6 separate regions of the Homo sapiens genome follow, and all the other regions are linked to region 5. The links are contacts of gene promoters, found by promoter capture Hi-C in blood cells and fetal thymus (Javierre and others, 2016). All regions are on one chromosome and are shown on one strand. Each heading gives the region's core, a stretch centred on a gene start or on the middle of the fragment in contact. The rest is flanking DNA. Distances are from core to core; before and after follow the strand shown. Region 1 overlaps SCN2B (sodium voltage-gated channel beta subunit 2). Region 2 overlaps BCL9L (BCL9 like). Region 3 holds the start of HYOU1 (hypoxia up-regulated 1). Region 4 overlaps SCN4B (sodium voltage-gated channel beta subunit 4). Region 5 holds the start of PHLDB1 (pleckstrin homology like domain family B member 1). Region 6 holds the start of SLC37A4 (solute carrier family 37 member 4).

The links. The method cuts DNA at HindIII sites, captures the fragments that hold promoters and counts their contacts. A CHiCAGO score of 5 or more calls a contact.
Region 1: a contact is called between a fragment that was not itself captured here and the fragment with the promoter of PHLDB1 in region 5, in 1 of 17 cell types (total CD8 T cells). The highest score is 5.4, in total CD8 T cells.
Region 2: a fragment that was not itself captured here is called in contact with the fragment with the promoter of PHLDB1 in region 5 in 1 of 17 cell types (naive CD4 T cells); the score reaches 5.1 in naive CD4 T cells.
Region 3: a contact is called between the fragment with the promoter of HYOU1 here and the fragment with the promoter of PHLDB1 in region 5, in 1 of 17 cell types (total CD4 T cells). The highest score is 5.8, in total CD4 T cells.
Region 4: a contact is called between a fragment that was not itself captured here and the fragment with the promoter of PHLDB1 in region 5, in 8 of 17 cell types (naive CD4 T cells, naive CD8 T cells, total CD4 T cells and 5 more). The highest score is 8.1, in naive CD4 T cells.
Region 6: the fragment with the promoter of SLC37A4 here is called in contact with the fragment with the promoter of PHLDB1 in region 5 in 3 of 17 cell types (non-activated CD4 T cells, naive CD8 T cells and naive CD4 T cells); the score reaches 6.8 in non-activated CD4 T cells.

The regions. Positions count from the first base shown.
Region 1 is chr11:118,165,279-118,167,978 of GRCh38, forward strand. SCN2B (sodium voltage-gated channel beta subunit 2) reads right to left here. Exons shown (of 4, transcript NM_004588.5): 4 at 1-1,808. The coding sequence ends at 1,609. Among named protein-coding and RNA genes, the nearest start is that of SCN2B, 10 kb to the right of the region's middle. The HindIII fragment of the contact is 6,967 bases long and covers 1-2,700 here.
Region 2 is chr11:118,903,551-118,906,250 of GRCh38, forward strand. All of the region lies in intron 5 of BCL9L (BCL9 like), which reads right to left. Among named protein-coding and RNA genes, the nearest start is that of MIR4492, 5.8 kb to the right of the region's middle. The HindIII fragment of the contact is 3,900 bases long and covers 1-2,700 here.
Region 3 is chr11:119,055,886-119,058,585 of GRCh38, forward strand. It overlaps HYOU1 (hypoxia up-regulated 1), which reads right to left and starts at 1,320. Exons shown (of 26, transcript NM_006389.5): 1 at 1,135-1,320; 2 at 185-282. The coding sequence starts at 275. RefSeq lists enhancers at 418-918, 919-1,418, 1,778-1,827 and silencers at 898-1,177, 1,268-1,547. The HindIII fragment of the contact is 24,437 bases long and covers 1-2,700 here.
Region 4 is chr11:118,137,933-118,140,632 of GRCh38, forward strand. All of the region lies in intron 4 of SCN4B (sodium voltage-gated channel beta subunit 4), which reads right to left. Among named protein-coding and RNA genes, the nearest start is that of SCN4B, 14 kb to the right of the region's middle. The HindIII fragment of the contact is 851 bases long and covers 854-1,704 here.
Region 5 is chr11:118,606,303-118,609,002 of GRCh38, forward strand. It overlaps PHLDB1 (pleckstrin homology like domain family B member 1), which reads left to right and starts at 1,313. Exons shown (of 23, transcript NM_001144758.3): 1 at 1,313-1,397. It overlaps LOC124902765 (a long non-coding RNA gene), which reads right to left and starts at 2,209. Exons shown (of 2, transcript XR_007062908.1): 1 at 1,821-2,209; 2 at 1-886. RefSeq lists silencers at 1,805-1,894, 1,955-2,024 and enhancers at 2,152-2,446, 2,484-2,700. The HindIII fragment of the contact is 8,144 bases long and covers 1-2,700 here.
Region 6 is chr11:119,029,627-119,032,326 of GRCh38, forward strand. SLC37A4 (solute carrier family 37 member 4) reads right to left here and starts at 1,251. Exons shown (of 10, transcript NM_001467.6): 1 at 1,223-1,251. RefSeq lists a silencer at 706-865. The HindIII fragment of the contact is 18,338 bases long and covers 1-2,700 here.

The sequences.
Region 1 (2,700 bases), core at 158-2,657, 440 kb before region 5:
TTCTGTCAGTTGGAACCTCAGTTTCCCCATTTTAAGTGAGTGACTTGGCTAGTTGATCTCTGAGGATCTTCCAAGGTCATGGTCTCAGAGTCAGTGTTTCTGCCTCTTGCTCCTTCTCTCAGGCCTAATCAATTTCCATTGAATGTGAGTGTAATGGCAGTGATGGTTGGCTCCGCACAATTGCCTTTTTTTTTTTTTTTTTTTTTTTTTGAGATGGAGTCTCTCTATGTCACCCAGGCTGAATTGCAGTGGCACTATCACTATCTCAGTTCACTGCAACCTCTGCTTCCCGGGCTCAAGCGATTCTCCTGCCTCAGCCTCCCAAATAGCTGGGATTACAGGCACACGCCACCACGCCCAGCTAATTCTTGTATTTTTAGTAGAGATGGGGTTTTGCCCATTTCTACTAAACAGATGGAGGTAATCCACCCGCCTTGGCCTCCCAAAGTGCTGGGATTACAGGCGTGAGCCACTGTGCCTGGCCTACAATTGTCACTTTTGTCCCCACGAAGGGAGTTGTTGGGAGAGGAGCGAGTAGTGTGGCTGCAGATGGGACAGGGCTGGCATTGGCAGCTCAGGTTCCAAGGCCTCCCCTTATGCCGGCCTCAGGCTTTCCCTTCCCTCTCTGTAGCCAAAAGCCAGGTGGAAACCCCACCAAGGGCAACTGGGAGAGTTCTCACTGAAGCCCCAAAGAAAGCTGCCCCACCCTGTGCATGGCCTCCTCATTTCCCAGCCTTGGCTGCCCCTGCCCAGGCGAGGGTGGTTACCCCATGGAGAAGGCAGAGCCTGCAGCAACCTGCATTCACCATGGAGCCCCACCCCTCAGCCCCTCAGCTGACTTTGAAACTGGCCTCTGTTGGTGGGTCCCCGCTGGGAAACATGGCCCCCTACCTGGAGCTGCTCTTCCAGTCTGGCCTCATCCACAGTCCTAAGGGATTAGGAGCCAACGGGAGCCCCAAGGAGGCCACTAGCAATGGAAACGAGGGCCCAACATGGCCTCCTGGGCCAGGGCACATGTCCAGCTTTGCCTGCAGCCCTGGCTTTCCGTCAGTGCCCTGGAATGCACAGTCATCCCTTTAACATGCCCCTCCAAGTTTCAGGAACTCATCGTCACCTCCAGCCTGATGGCTGCTCTGGGCTGGGAGCAGGGGAGGAGCACAGCCGTGCCAGGCCAAGGCCCTCCTGAGGGAGCGCTGTCAGCACAGGAAAGCCCTCCCTCCCCACCAGGTCCTCTCTGAAGCCACTGCCAGGCCAAGCACTGGGCAGGTGGACAGCGGCCCCCTCCTCTACCCCTGCCCACCCACTCCCTTCTCTCTGGGGACCCTCACATGTGCCTCCTGCCTCCCCCCAGGGACTGGCAGGTGGGAGCCCTTTCTCTCCTCTCCCCAGGGCCCACACGTCCCAGAGCATGGCAGGTTTCTCGGATGGAAGAGAGTGGGTCACTCTTGGTGCAGGGTGGGAGATACGAAGTCGGGGGTTCAGGAGGCCCCAGGTGGGCCCTGGGGTCCTAGGTCACGGGAAGCACACCAAGAGCGAGCAGGCAGGGTCACTGTACAGGGCGGAGAGGGGAGGAGACGGGACACGGGAGGCTGCAGGGCCGGCCACCCACTACTTGGCGCCATCATCCGGGTTGCCTTCACCGTCCGTCTTGCCCTCCTCCTCGGTCTTCAGGTCATCTGTGCTCAGCTTCTGCTCTTTTTTTCTCCTCACACACTTGACCACCATCAGCACCAAGATGACCACAGCCAGGAAGCCCCCGACGGAGGCACCCACAATCACGGCCACCGTGGAGTCCCGCTCAGGGGGCTCTGGAAAGGAAGCAGAGCCACTGAGCACCAGGGCTGGGAAAGGGGCCTCCCCCATCACCCCACTACCCGTGGCATGCGTGGAACCATCCTGACTTTACTCTCCTCCACAGACAGGACTTTAGCAAAGCCGAAAAGCAATCCAGTGACTGACCCTGAAGCGCCGCCACCTCCAAATCCCAGGACACCCAAAGCCCCCAGAGGAGCTAGTGTGATGAAGTATTTAAGAGCATGAACTTTAAGATCAAACAGACCCAAATTTGAGTCCTAATTGTACAACTTACGAATTGCGTGACCTTAAGTAACTTATCCTCTCTAACCTCAGTTTTCTAACATGTAAAATGGGCTTAATAATAGTACCTCCCTCAAAGGTTTTCATGAGGATGAGATAATGCATAAACAGAGCTTAGCCCTATGACTGAGACATAGAGGTGCCCAATAAATGAAAGCTGCCATCATCACCATCATTATTATTGCTGTTGTTGTCATTTGAAACAGGGTCTTGCTCTGTTGCCCAAGCTGGAGTGCAGTGGCACAATCATGATTCACTGCAGCCTCTACCTGCTGGGCTCAGATGATCCTCTCACCTCAGCCTCCCAAGTAGCTGGGAGTATAGGTGCAAGCCACCATGCCCAGCTAATTTTTGCATTTTCTGTAGAGATGGAGTTTTGCCATGTTGCCCAGGCTGGTCTCGAGCTCCTGAGCTCAAGCTATCTGCCTGCCTCAGCCTCCCAAAGCGCTGTGATTACAGGTGTGAGCCATCACACCAAGCCCCATTATTAAGACTGGGATTATATTCTGTATCATTACCAGGACTCTCTGGGACATGTTCCCAGGTTCTTGAGGACTAGAGGGAAGAAAATGGATTCCTTCTATGCAGCACAAATGGTTGCTC
Region 2 (2,700 bases), core at 147-2,646, 300 kb after region 5:
GCCCACAGGGACATTTGATGTCAGTATCTGGTGTTCTCACCAGGCTGGTTTCCACGATGGCAAGAGTGGTGACCATGTGGAGAGCAGGGACAGAGAAAATGTGTCCTCTCCACAGGCTCCCATGGGCCTGGCATTCTGCTGGGGACTTAACAGGTGTGATTTCATCTCATCAACACACCCTGGGAGGAACGTGTCACACACTCCACTTAACAAAGGAGGAAATAAGTTCCTCACCCACAGTTACACAGCCAGTTAGTGCAGAGCCAGAACTGAACCCAGGGCCGGGACTCTGAAGCTCCGCTCTGAGCTGCTGCCCCTCTCACTGGGTAAGTGTATGTGCACACAGTCTAGTGACCCAGTTAGGGAGAAGGCAGAGAGGGTACACAAGCTGATGATCCAAATGATGGATGGTTTTTCACTCTAGCCCCACCACTAACTGACTTTGTGATTTTATGAACCAGACATCCCTCTAAGCCTCGGTTTCTTCATCTATAAAATGTAAAATACTAACCTCCTCCTTGCACAGGGGGCAGGCCAAAGAAATATATTTTTTAACAGTAAGTTTAAATCAATGTCACAGACTAAAAAAATCCATTTGAAAAACAGAGAGCCGGGAGCGGTGTCTCACGCCTGTAATCCCAGCAGTTTGGGCGGTAGAGGCGGGCGGATCACCTGAGGTCATGAGTTCAAGACCAGCCTGGCCAACATGGTGAAACCCCGTCTCTACTAAAAATACAAAAATTAACTGGGCATGGTGGCGCATGGCTGTAATCCCGCTACTCAGGAGGCTGAGACATGAGAATTGCTTGAACTTAGGAGGTGGAAGTTGCAGTGAGCCGAGATCACACCATTGCACTCTAGCCAGGGCGACAGAGCGAGACTGTCTCAAAAAAATAAATAAATAAATAAAAATAAGAAAGAAAAAACAGTTAGAAAAAGCTGACATACTGGAAACACTCTCAAGACAGACCAGCTGCCCTCAGCACCAAGGGAAGTTTTGTTCCATGGTTAGACACTTGACTGTAAGTCTTAGCGTAGAAAAAAATCTACAACGGGTCTAGGTGAGTGGGTAGACCCATTCGCATGCCAAGAAAAGCAAGTCACAGTTCCTGGCCCGCAGACAGTAAGTACCAGCATTCTCAGTTAATGGGAGACAGATTGCCTGAAGTTGTCTCCATCCAGCCAGGGCAGTGACCACCTTCCCATGGGCCCAGTGTCAGGCTGCCCTCTTTGGAAAAAGTTTCTTCTGCACCTTCTTCTCTGATGGACCCACCCCAAAACGGCCCTGCTCTGGACCCTATCTATCCAATTTTACATAGAAGAGCAGAGCCAGAAATTTGCGGGGGAGCTTGAGAGCTGACCTCAATGTGTGAAGGCTGCTGAGTAGCTCTTGGATACGAGCTATGGGGAGACAGGCAGGGCTTAGTCCAACAAGGAACTTTCTAGTACAATAACAATGATAAAAGCTAACATGTTACATGTATAACCTCATTTACTCCTCATACCAACCCTATGAGATAAATAATACTTTTACAGATGAGGAAACTGAGGCCCTTTCCCAAATTTACAGAAATAACCTGGGTTGCAAACGAAGGCAGCCTGATGGCAGAACTAGTCCTGTCAATGTCTACGTTCTATCGCCCCTCCAGTAAGAACTCTTCAAGAATCTAAGGGCAGGCCGGGCACGGTGGCTTATGCCTGTAATCCTAACACTTTGGGAGGCCGAGGCGGGCGGATCACTTGAGGGCAGGAGTTCAAGACCAGCCTGGCCATAATGGTGAAACTCCATCTCTACTAAAAATACAAAAATTAGCCAGGCGTGGTGACGCATGCCTGTAATCCCAGCTACTTGGGAGGCTGAAGCAGGAGAATTACTTGAACCCAGGAGGTGGAGGTTGCAGTGAGCCGAGATTGTGCCACTGCACTCCAGCCTGGGCAACAGAGTGAGTGAGACTCTGTCTCAAAAAAAAAAAAAAAAAAAAAGAATCAGGCCGGGTGGCTCACGCCTGTAATCCCAGCACTTTGGGGGGCTGAGGCAGGTGTATCACCTGAGGTCAGGAGTTCAGGACCGGTCTGGCCAACATGCTAAAACTCCACCTCTGCTAAAAATACAAAAATTAGCCAGGCGTGGTGGCAGGTGCCTGTAATCCCAGCTACTCGGGAGGCTGAGGCAGGAAAATCGCTTGAACTCAGGAGGCAGAGGTTGCAGTAAGCCGAGTTCGTGCCATTGCACTCCAGCCTGGGCAACAAGAGTGAAACTCCGATTCAAAAATAAATAAATAAATAAATAAATAAAAGAATCTAAGGGTAGTACGACTAAAATAGTCGCCTTGAGTATGGGATGTTAGCAATTTCTACTTTGTATTTCCCTATGTTTGCCAGGCACAGTGGCTCACTCCTGTAATTCCAGCACTTTGGGAGGCCAAGGCATGAGGATCGCTTGAGACCAGGAGTTCAAGATCAGCCTGGGCAACATGGCAAGACTGTCTCTACAAAAATTAGCCAGGTGTGATACATGCCTGAGCCCCAGCTACTTGGGAGTCTGAGATGGGAGGATCACTTGAGCTCAGGAGTTTGAGGTTGCAGTGAGCTGTGATCACACCACTGCACTCCAGCCTGGGTGTCAGAGAGAGACCCTGTCTCTAAACAATAAATAAATAAAACTCACAAAGTTTCTACAATGGTGCAGTCTGATGTGAC
Region 3 (2,700 bases), core at 70-2,569, 450 kb after region 5:
ACCTTCCTGGGACTCCCTCTAATCAAAGCATACCACTTTCCATGGGTAAACGAAGATGGCAAAAGACAAAAAGGCCTGGACCTAACAACTCAAGAGACTTCTGGCCAACAGCCCCAAGCTCAATTCCCATCATGCATCCTTCAGTCATCATTTATCCATTTGCTCCCTCTACTGGGGTACATACCACTCAGTGCCAACAGGTCTGCCAAGAGCACAGCCACCAAGGCCCAACAGACTCGCCTCCTCGGCCTCTGCCTCCTAACTTTGTCTGCCATAGTGCCCCTGGGGGAGGCGAAGAAAGAAAACACTTAAAACTGGATACCCGGAGTGAAGGAGACAGAATCACATCCCAGAACGGAGAGGCTGTAAGATTCATATCTACTTCATTCTTACCCAGGGCAGATCAGCCTACTTCTCCCCTTCTCCCTCCTGATGGGTACAAACCATTCTCTAATCATCCCAGCAGCGCCCACACAAAGGCCCAAGTGAAAGAGCATGGGTCCTCGGCTTTGCCACATCCCTAAACAGAGAAGCTAACAGGACAAGAGAAAGGAGACCCGAGCCTTTTGTCCACCACACAGGCAGTGAGTGGCGCACCGCAGCACTGTGCCTGTTGTCAGACACCTGGGGTGCGGCCAGGGATCCCCGCCCAGGGCTCAACCACCTCCCCACACCTGGAGCTCCCCCGCTGACGGGGAAAGCCAGCTGGGCCTGGACGGGAAGAGAAAGGTAATGACGTTGGGGGTAGCTAGGATGAAGGAAAGGCCTATCTCCTCCTCGGCATCCCTGCGGGTTGTCCCGCCCCCTCCCCTTTCCCAGCTCACTCCCCGGCCCCGCTGTGCCCACAGACGCAGTGCCAGGGGCGGTAAGGTTCCCCGCCCGGCGGGTAGCCGTTACCCGGTGTTCACCTAAACCCCACCTGACGAAGGCGGCGGCTCCCACTCCCGGAAACGGATCCCGGCCCGCCCCAGCAAGTGGGGACAGACCGGGGGCCGAGCTGCGTGCCCCCCGGTGCGAGGCCGAGCGCCCGGCGTCCGCGCGGCCCTCCCTTGCGCTCCCGACCCGCCCCCGGAGCTCGCACGCTGTCTCCCCTAGGAGGGGTGGCCGGCCCGCACCTCCATCCACCCCCGCTACCTCTTGCCTCCGCTCCTGCGGCCCCAGCTCTGGGACAGACGCGGCACGAACGTACCCACGAGGCCGGCAGCGCCCCCCACCCGCGCCCTTCACAACTCCTCTCGGTTTGCAAACTGTTACATTAGCCACCAACCTCTCGGCGGCGTCTCGCGCACCAGCCGGCCCCGGACGCGGCGCGCGCTCATTGGAGCCTCGGCCGCCCGGCCCTGCGCTGCGCGCCCGGCCCCGCCCCCGCCGCCCCGGCGCGCGTACTCATTGGACCACGTCCCAGGCCCCGCCCCCTCCCTTTGCCAGCCTTGTAATGGGGCGGCGGAGGGGACCAGCCACCGGTTGGGCAGAAGCAGCCGGCGTCGGCCTGGGATTGGACCACGTCACGGGGCCAGCGCGCTCCACTCCTTCCTCCCCAGCGCCGGCCCCGGGGCGACCGCGGGACCTTTTCCGGCGCTGGATGCTTTGCTGCCGGGGTTCGGGAGTGACCTGCGCCTAGAGCAGGTCGGGCGCACTGCAGTCCCGCACTCGGGGCTCTTCTTCCGGTCACCTGTAGAGCCCGGCCGAGGAATGGAATAACAGGCGTCCTGTCCGCAGCCCCGCGGAGGGGGCGCTGGCCTGCCGGTTAGTATTGAGGTGCCCTAGGCTTTGGATAGACGTTGGAGAATGGCTGTCCCTCGGACTGAGTCCGTCGCAACCCCCTCTGTTTTACTGAGGAAACTGAAGCCACAGAAAAAGATGTTTGCTGATGGGTCAGAGATAACCGATGCATTCGTCGCAGAATCTGGCCAGGATTTCTTAGGTTAAGCCCCACTCATTTGTATAAGAAAGAATATTCCAAACTTAAGTACTACACACAAAAGACACTTTTATTTGTGAGGCTATAGTTGGTTGAGCTTGTGTGCACCTTCTCCTATTTCTGTTCTATTAAATCTTGTGAACATTTCTCTACTCTTTAGCTGTTTCTGTCATAGAATGACAGAAGCACCTCACTGCCTTCTCTTTTAACTTACAGCTCCATAGAAATGTGCGCAGTCGCCCGGGCGCGGTGGCTCACGCCTGTAATCCCAGCATTTTGGGAGGCCAAGGCGGGCGAATCACTGGAGGTCAGGAGTTCGAGACCAGCCTGGCCAACATGGTGAAACCCCGTCTCTACCAAAACTACAAAAATTAGCCAGGCGTGGTGGCGGGTGCCTGTAATCCCAGCTACTCACGAGGCTGAGGCAGGAGAATTGCTTGAATCCGGGAGGCAGAGGTTGCTGTGAGCCCAGACTGCGCCACTGCACTCCAGCCTGGGCGACAACAGCGAGACTCCTTCTCGAAAAAGAAATGTACGCAGTCCTTGGAGACTGCATTTTCCTTAAGTGTGGATGGAAATAAGTCATCTGTTTTCTCTCCTACTAAGTTGATGCCTGGCCACCCTTCACAGAAAGGCCCGCTTGAAGACCCTGGCTGTCAGGGCCAGGGTTGTGTCAAGCCTGAACTTGTTTAAGGAGCTCTTAGCTCTTCCTTTCTCTACATTTTTCGTGATGCTTAGGTGGAGAGTGGTCCGGTGTCTATGCTTAGAAGGAAAAATTA
Region 4 (2,700 bases), core at 29-2,528, 470 kb before region 5:
GGCAGTGGGTTTGGCTTCAAGGGTGACAGGTCTAGGCAGAGTTTGGTGGGACGGAGCAGAAGACAGGAGGAAGGAGAGATGGTGAGATGGGAAGACACCTCCCGGGAGGCGTTCCACCCTGACCGCTCTGAGCTGGACATGCTCCAACTTCAGTGTGTCCCTCCTCCACAGCAGCGCCCAGGCTGGGCACACAGAACTCCCCAGGGAGCACCTGCATCCCTCTGAGCTTTCTGCTCATGAAAATGGCCAAGTTTTTCACAGCTGCTACAGCCAAACTACATCCTACCCTCACCCTGGGCTTGGGCAGCTGGGTTTGAGGCCTTTGGGAAGGACTGAATATTTTGTCCTCATTAATTTCATCTTGCAATACCTAGTTCCTAGCTCCAGCCTATCAAGATCTTCCTAGATCCCTTTTTCTTCCAACATAGTTACTAGGCTTCTGGAAGTTGATAAATGTGACATCCCTAGTGTACTTCAAATGTTAGTAATAACAATGAACAGGTGGAGCCCTGTGGAATACACTAAAGACCTCTATTCGGATGGATCCATCTCTCTCTCTCTGTCTCTCTCTCTTTCTTTCTTTCTGTCTCTGTACCTAAGGCATAGTTAACCCAGCCAATTACGACCCACCGAACTGTATTCCACGCAGTCCATAATTCTCTACTGAGAACCTACTGGGTACCAGGCACTGTGTCGGAAACGTGCACTCTCCTAGGGCATGTGACATTAAACAAGTGATTGTGACACACTGTGGTAAATAACAGGATGGGGGATGTAGGAAGGAGGGACCCAACCTAGGAAGCCTCCTCATAGGAGTCAGGGAAGCTTTTTGGAAGTATACCTTAAACTTCCAAGCTTCTTTGAAACCAAGAAAGATGAGCAGGAAAAGAGAGAGGGTAAATTCCAGACAGAGGAAACAGCACCCACGTTTCAGAATCAATGGTGAGATGTTGTCCAGTACCTCCCTGTTCTTGAGAAGCCACTGTCTCTGCTGTAATGCAGGCATTCCCCGCCACTCCAAGGACCTCCCTCAGGCTTCCCTACGGTCTGTCCCCTGCCCCCAGGCTCTTCCACCCAATCCCTCCGCCCACCATGGCCAGATCCTTTCTTCTGTGCTCTCTGATCGTGCCAGGGCCCTGCAAGCCCTCGCCAGCTCCCCTGCCGTCGGAAGTCAATCACAGCCTCGACTCCCAGGTCCCCAAGTGTCTGTCCCCAACCCCTTCTGCAGGCTTTTATTCTCCTCCCCACCACCTCACCATACAGCTCTCTCAACAAACAAAAGGCTTGTTCTCCAGACAAGCCCACTTCCCAGACTCTCTGCCTTGGCTCTCAGTGGTGCCTCCATCTGGAAGAATCTTCCCTTTACTCTCCCCAGGGCTTAAGTTATATTAATCTTGCAAGGCCTGCCACAAACACCCATTCAGCCAGAAATCCTTCCCAGAATTTCACCCTGCCCTGAACCCCCACAGCAGCATCGTATCAAACCTCTTTGCTGGCACTGATCCCCTCTACCTTGTATTACATTTATTTGTATACACATTTATTTGTATCTTGTCTTCTTTAGTTAAAGGCAGAATCTCATTCCTTCCATAATTTCCTATAGCATCTGGCACAGTGCCTCAAAAACAGCCACAAAATGAACAGATAAATGAATGAACTCTAGATATGCCCAGTGAGTCAGTAGAACATCCTGGCAATGGTTTAAGCTTTGAAGCCAAATTAGTCACAGTTCAAATCCCAGCTCTATCACTTACTAGCTGTGTGGCCTTGGGCAAGTCACTTCACTACTCTGAGCCTCACTTTGCTCAATTGTAAAATAATAATTATGGGTAGTGTATAAAATTGCCTGGTGGAATTCCTAACATATGGTAGGCATTTGATGAATGACAGGAAGTGGTATTTTCCAGAGCAATCTCCTGTTCTGCCAGTGCCTTATCAGGAGACATCTAGCATTCCTTTTTTTTTTTTCTTTTTTCTTTTTTTTTTTAAGAGACGAGCTCTTGCTAAGTTGCCCAGGCTGGACTCAAACTCCTGGGCTCAAAGCATCCTCCTGCCTCAGCCCCCCAGGGAGCTGGGACTTCAGGCACACACATCCAGCTTAGCATGTCTTGTTTTTGATGAACCCACTGTGGCTCTGAAGGACCACCGTTGTCTTTTCTAAGTGCTTTTAAACCATATATTGACAAATTTGTTCTCCATCCATTGATAGTAAGACTGGTTATGAAAAACAGAACCTAATTAAGCTCCACGCTTTTAGCCCCTCTCACGATCACCAAAACCCTCACAGCCTCTGGCCACAAGGCAGGCAGACAACCCTTGAGCTCTTCATCGACAACCCAGTTCTGGGGTCCTCCCCTGCTCCCCAGCCCCAGCGCTGCTACCTGTATGGCCCCTCCCTACCTCCAACTTCCATCCCCTCTTTCTAGAGTAAGTTCTGCCCTTTACAGCAGAATTCCCTCTTCTCAGCAGAGCAGAATGTTTCAGCAAATAGGGGCAGAGGAGTTCTCCATTCTCTGCATCTCGTGGTTACCATCACCCTCTCTGTTCCAATGGGAAGCCATCTCGTCGCATCTGTCTTGCTCAGAACACAACTTTCAAATGCCTTTTCCCTGCTCTAGTTTTGCAAGATTCACCACATGCTGCTCTGGAGCCTGTCTGATACTGTTCCAAAAATTTGGGGCCTGAGGGTTGCACCCTCCG
Region 5 (2,700 bases), core at 63-2,562:
GTCTGCTGCTTGGCCCCGGTCAGCTTCAGTCTCCAGCCGTGGGGGGTCCCCTGCTAAGGCCAGCCCTGTCAATGAGTGACCAGAGATTCCTGTAGTTCAGCCTCCTGCTGTTCCTGGGTTAGGGAGAGACGGCACAAACTAAACTCATTGAATTAGAACAGCACTTGTCCATCTCAAAGAGGATAAATTATTTTTTGCTATCCACCCCAGCTGGAATTTAGACCAGACTTACAGGCTTTCTGCTCCTTCCTTCAGTGAAGAAGAGTCTCCAGGGTCCCTCTAGTGCAGGTCAAAGAAGTCCAGTCCAGCTGAGTTCAGCTCCCTAGGGCCTCCCCAGCCAGTCTCCTGGACCAAGAGCTGGCTTTGCAAGGTAAGGATCCACTGTCAGCGTTGGATTTCGGAGTGGAGGTTGAGATGGAGAATGACTTCAACCTAGCTCAATTTGGGGGCTGCTTTTAGGTGTTTAGTGCCTCCTTCTCTTCCTTATTAACTCCCACTCCTACTACAGGTTGGTGTGCTCAATTGTATGTCTATAGCCTGCCTCCATCTCCCAATCTGTAATCCAGCAAGTCTGTCGGGGTGGAGGGGTGTGGAGCTCCATGGGGGCAAGATGATAATTCCATTCGGTTTTCCTGTGCTTTGGAGTTTGCATGACACTTTAACGAGTCTTCTTGTGCCTATCCTTAAGAAAGTCTGTGAAGCCTGATGTGCGTGGCTATCAATGTCATTTACAGCTCTTCATGGTGGGGCTTGGAATAGGGCGAGGGGAGGAGGTGACAGGGAGAAGACCTGGGTACCCTCAGTAGATGTTCTGGAGATGTTGAGAGCATGTTGTAGGGGCTTCGATTTGGGAGGTTCAGTGGGAGCCCGTGGAGGTTTCAGGCATCTAAGGCAAAAAGAAAGAGGGGAGAGTTTGGGGGAGGGAGAACGGATTGTCAAAAACACCCTCTCAAAAGCGTGTTAAAGCCTGGGAGTGGAGGGTGGTCTAGGAGAGTCGGGAGGGCAGGGTGGGAGGAGAGGGGGATGTGTGGTGGTGGTGGTGGTGGTGGTGGTGGTGGTGGTGGTGGTGGTGGTGGTGGTGGTGATGGTGGAGAGCCCAGCTGCAAAGATGAACAAAGCGGGCGCTGTGCAGGCTGGGGGAGGTGCTGCTGTGGGAAAGGGTGGGTGGGGGGACCTTGGGCTCCAGCCCCACAAGGGCGTCTTCTTTGGCTGGCCAGGCGGACGGGACGGGGGACGGGGGCGGGGACTGGCGGGAGGGGGGCGGGACAGGCTCGCTCTCCTCCTACTTAGCGAGCTCCCGGGGAAAAGCAACGGTGTCCTCCTAAGCCTGAGGCCACCGCGACCGAGCCGAGCCAGGCTAAGGGACCAGTGTCTCCCTGCCCCCCCCCCACCTCTAGGTAAGAGCGCCCCGTCCCACTACACTTGCGGGTCCCATTCGCTGCGGTGCTAGGACTGGATAAGGGGAAGTCCCCGGGGCCTGGCGAGAGCCCTGAGATCAGCTCTAGGCTAGGGAGCTCGGCAGAAACCCGTGGGGGAGAGAGGGCACCCCAGGTGAGTGCGTGGGGGCGAAAGGAGCGTTATGGGGAGTTTTCCTGTGAGCCTCTTGCTTTTGCCTTCCTCGGCCGCTGCCAACGCCACCGCCAGAGGGGGCCGTGACGCTCTCCCCCCCTTGGAGAAACTCTGATCCTGGCCCTATCCAGACTCTCCCGCCGGCACCCAGGCGGCCGGGCGGACACTCGCGGGGTATCGGGCGGCGAGCGCGCGCGCGGGTTTTCGTCCTCCAGCGCCCCACACCTCCCCCTCTCCGCCCACAGCAGGACCTTGGGGCGGGGGTATCTCCTGTGACGTCTCCCCGCCTGTCCCCAGGCCGGCCGCCTTGATGGACCAGGAAGGGATTCGGAGTCCGGCTCAGAGTCTTGAGCGTCTAGGAGGGCTGCCTGGGGGTGTCCAGGAGATGGGAAGCCCGCCTGGGGCCTCCCAGGCACTCCCCAAGGCCCCACGTCCTCGGGGGCCGGGGAGGCCGCCTGGGGCGCCTTGCCACGCCCGCGCGGTCCCTATTGGAATCCCTAGCGGAGTTCCCCGAGCGGAGGCTGACCCAAGTCATCCGGGCTCCCCCGGGATAGGGAAGTGCGGGCGGGCGGCTGGGTAGGGGCGCCGGCGCAGGGTGGCCGAGTCGCCCGCTAGCGCTTCCGCCGAGGCAGGCTCGAGTGGGGACTTGGCCGGGCGACCGCACAGCCCTGCCGGGGACCCACGGCTCTGGGGCGGGGCTGCATTCTGGGCCGTTAGCTCAGCGGTCCTGGAGCCTCCCGAGGCTGACTCATCGGGCGGCGGGCTCACCCCCCAGCCGTCAAACGCAAACGCAGGCGCCCCACCACGCCGGGCTCCCACGCGGCACACACGCACGCCTCCGCGACACTTCGCACACCTACGTCCCTGCGTCACGCCACCCAGACACACCCGGACCCGCCCACACGCCGAGGCCTTCCCACGCACTCCATGCCTTACGCCTCACAGGAAAGCGCCCCGCGCTCACGCAGCCCCTCACACCCGCAGCCCCGCTTACACGCGCCCCAGCTCACACATGCACCCCAGTCACACAGCCTACCTCACACACGCACCCCAGTCACACACACAACCCAGCTCACACACGTACCCGTCACACATGAGGCCCCAGCTCACACACGAAGCCCAGCTCACACA
Region 6 (2,700 bases), core at 1-2,500, 420 kb after region 5:
CGGAAGGAGGCATGCCTGTGAGCCAGGCCAGCACCCTGTGTCCCCAGGATTTCTGCCTTTACCTCCTCTATCATGTCTGCTTGCCTGTGAAACCAGCTTTGATTAAAGGTTCAACCTAATTACTTTTGTCTGCCTGAGCCCAGGGGAGGCAGGGGTGGGATGAGCAGAGATGCCCTCTCTAGCCCTGCTCCCTCAGTCACAGAACCTTCTCATTCATTCACGGAAGGTTTATTAACTTACTAGTTGACAGGCACTGCACTTGGCACTATTAGTTTCTACACCCACTCACCACCACCGCACCAAAACACAAAGTCAGACACATACCCCGGCTACCCCACTTCTAAGCCTTCTAGAGAGGGCCTCAATCCGTGGAACTCTCAATACTTAGCACATAATAGATTTAATTGTTTCCTACAGTTGCCCCTTGTAATTCTGTGCAAGGGGGACCTCCCCAGTTCAGGTCCCACGGTGTCACACAGAAAGCCCCGCTAAGGGCTGAGGTCCTGATGGGGCCCCACAGAGCTACCTCTGGGTCCCCATTACCCTGCGACGTCAGTCTGGGCTTCCTTCGGGCTAGCTGGGGGCTGCAGGGTCTGGTTTCCAACCTGTGGGACGTTGGCAGGGGCCGCAAGCAGAGGGACTGGGCAGCTCGTGGGCGGGAAGGTGCCCCGGCGGGCTTCGGGCTGCAGGGCACAACCGTCCCGCCCAGGGCCCCGGCAACATGCCCCGGCTTTTCCGCTCAATTGGGAAAGCAACTGGAGCAGAAGGCGTAGGCGCACGCGGAGCGGGCGACCGCACGTATTCTCCCGGAGGCCCCGCGCTTCTGGCACCCAGAGGCTCAGCCTGGTAGGGGAGGGCCAGGCGGCGGGCGGGAGAGGAGGAGAGGCGGCGGGCGGCGAAGAGGCGGCGGGCTCGTGGCACCTGCCCAGCCCCGTGGGTCCTCACGCTACCCAGGACACGCTACTGTGCGGCTGGGAACCACGGGGGCCGGGGGTGCAGGAGCTGGAGAGGTGCGGAGACCACAGGACTGGCGCGATAGAAAGGGGTCTCGTGCTGGTGGTCAGGGACAGCGCCTCGGTGGCCCCAAGACCCATGAATTGTCTCTGGAACTGCAGGAACAGCTCCGGGTCGTATCGGAAGTTGGGGTTCGCCAACAATGGCTCCCCAAGACCTGAGATCCCCGCCCTCAGGTGACTCCCCTCCCCCGCATACCGCCTCCTACCTGAACAGAGGCGGGAGCCCGAATAGGACGGGGCGGGGCTAGCGAAGGCTGCGCAAGCGCGGCCGGCGGGGGCGTGGTCTTCGCCTGCTGCTTCGCTTGCCGGCCAGTGGAGTTCCCCGCCCCACATGCCGGGGACGTCGACTTACTCCCTCCCGCTGGTCACGCTGCTCCTTGGACGAACGAGCATAGCGCCCCTTAGGGGCTGGGCACGGCATGTCCAATTCTTAAGTGGTTGCATTCAACAAACCAGTTTTTAGTGAGTGCCCTCCTCTACAAAACACACCGAACACTAAGGTGATAATCATTGTTCCCAAGTTGCTCACAGTCTGGGAAAGGTGTTGTAGGAACACACAGTATTTTCTTTTTTTCTTTTTTTTTTTTTTTGAAACAGTCTCGCTCAGTCGCCCAGGCTGGAGTGCAGTGGCGCGATTTCGGCTCACTGCAAGCTCCTCCTCCCGGGTTCACACCATTCTCCTGCCTCAGCCTCCCGAGTAGCTGGGACTACGGGCGCCCACCACCACGCCCGGGTAATTTTTTGTATTTTTAGTAGAGACGGGGTTTCACCGTGTTTGCCAGGATGGTCTCGATCTCCTGACCTCGTGATCCGCTCACCTCGGCCTCCCAAAGTGCTGGGATTACAGGCGTGAGCCACCGCGCCCAGCCCACAATTTGGAATTTTAACTTGTGGTTAGATTGTTGGGGACAGAGACGGGGCCTGGAGTAAATATCAAATTCTAGTCCTAGACCCACAGCATTCTAACTGTATGACCTTGGTTAATCTCTATGAGCTCCCGTTTCCTACCAGCCTGGTAGATCATTGTGAAGACTCAACAGATGATTTAGATAAGAGCTCAGAAATTCTATAAGAGTTCTCAACAACAATGGTTTTCACTGATCCCAGTTAAGAGTTGTGAGGAGTAACAGTAGTGATGCTATTTTACAACAATGATGACTGTGTTCTCAGAAACAGAGCAAATGTTAACCCTGCCCATAGCTTCAACAGAAGGTAACATAGCCTAACAAAGTCCCCAACAGTCCCAATCAGCCAGCACTTCCCGACCTCTCCCCAATAGAAACGATATTATAAAAGCCTCAGCTTGTAAGCGATCAGGGTCTCAGCCAGACTCCTGACTGGAACTCCTTGCAGGCTTATTCCTGTGAATAAACCTGTTTGGCCGTTGAGTTGCCTCCTGTCTCTCGCTCTCTTCCCTTATATCTTCCTAACAAGAGTGGCTGAAGGAATTGTAAGTGTTCCAAAATTGAGAGCAAAGATCTTTTACTCCAGAGAAGATGGTCAGGGAAGGGAGGAGGAGGAGATGAGATAAAATAGGATGACAGGCCGGACGCGATGGCTCATGCTTGTAATCCCAGCACATTGGGAGGCCAAGGCGGGCAGATCACTTGAAGTCAGGAGTTCGAGACCAGCCTGGCCAACATGGTGAAACCCTGTCTCTACTAAAAATACCAAAATTAGCCAG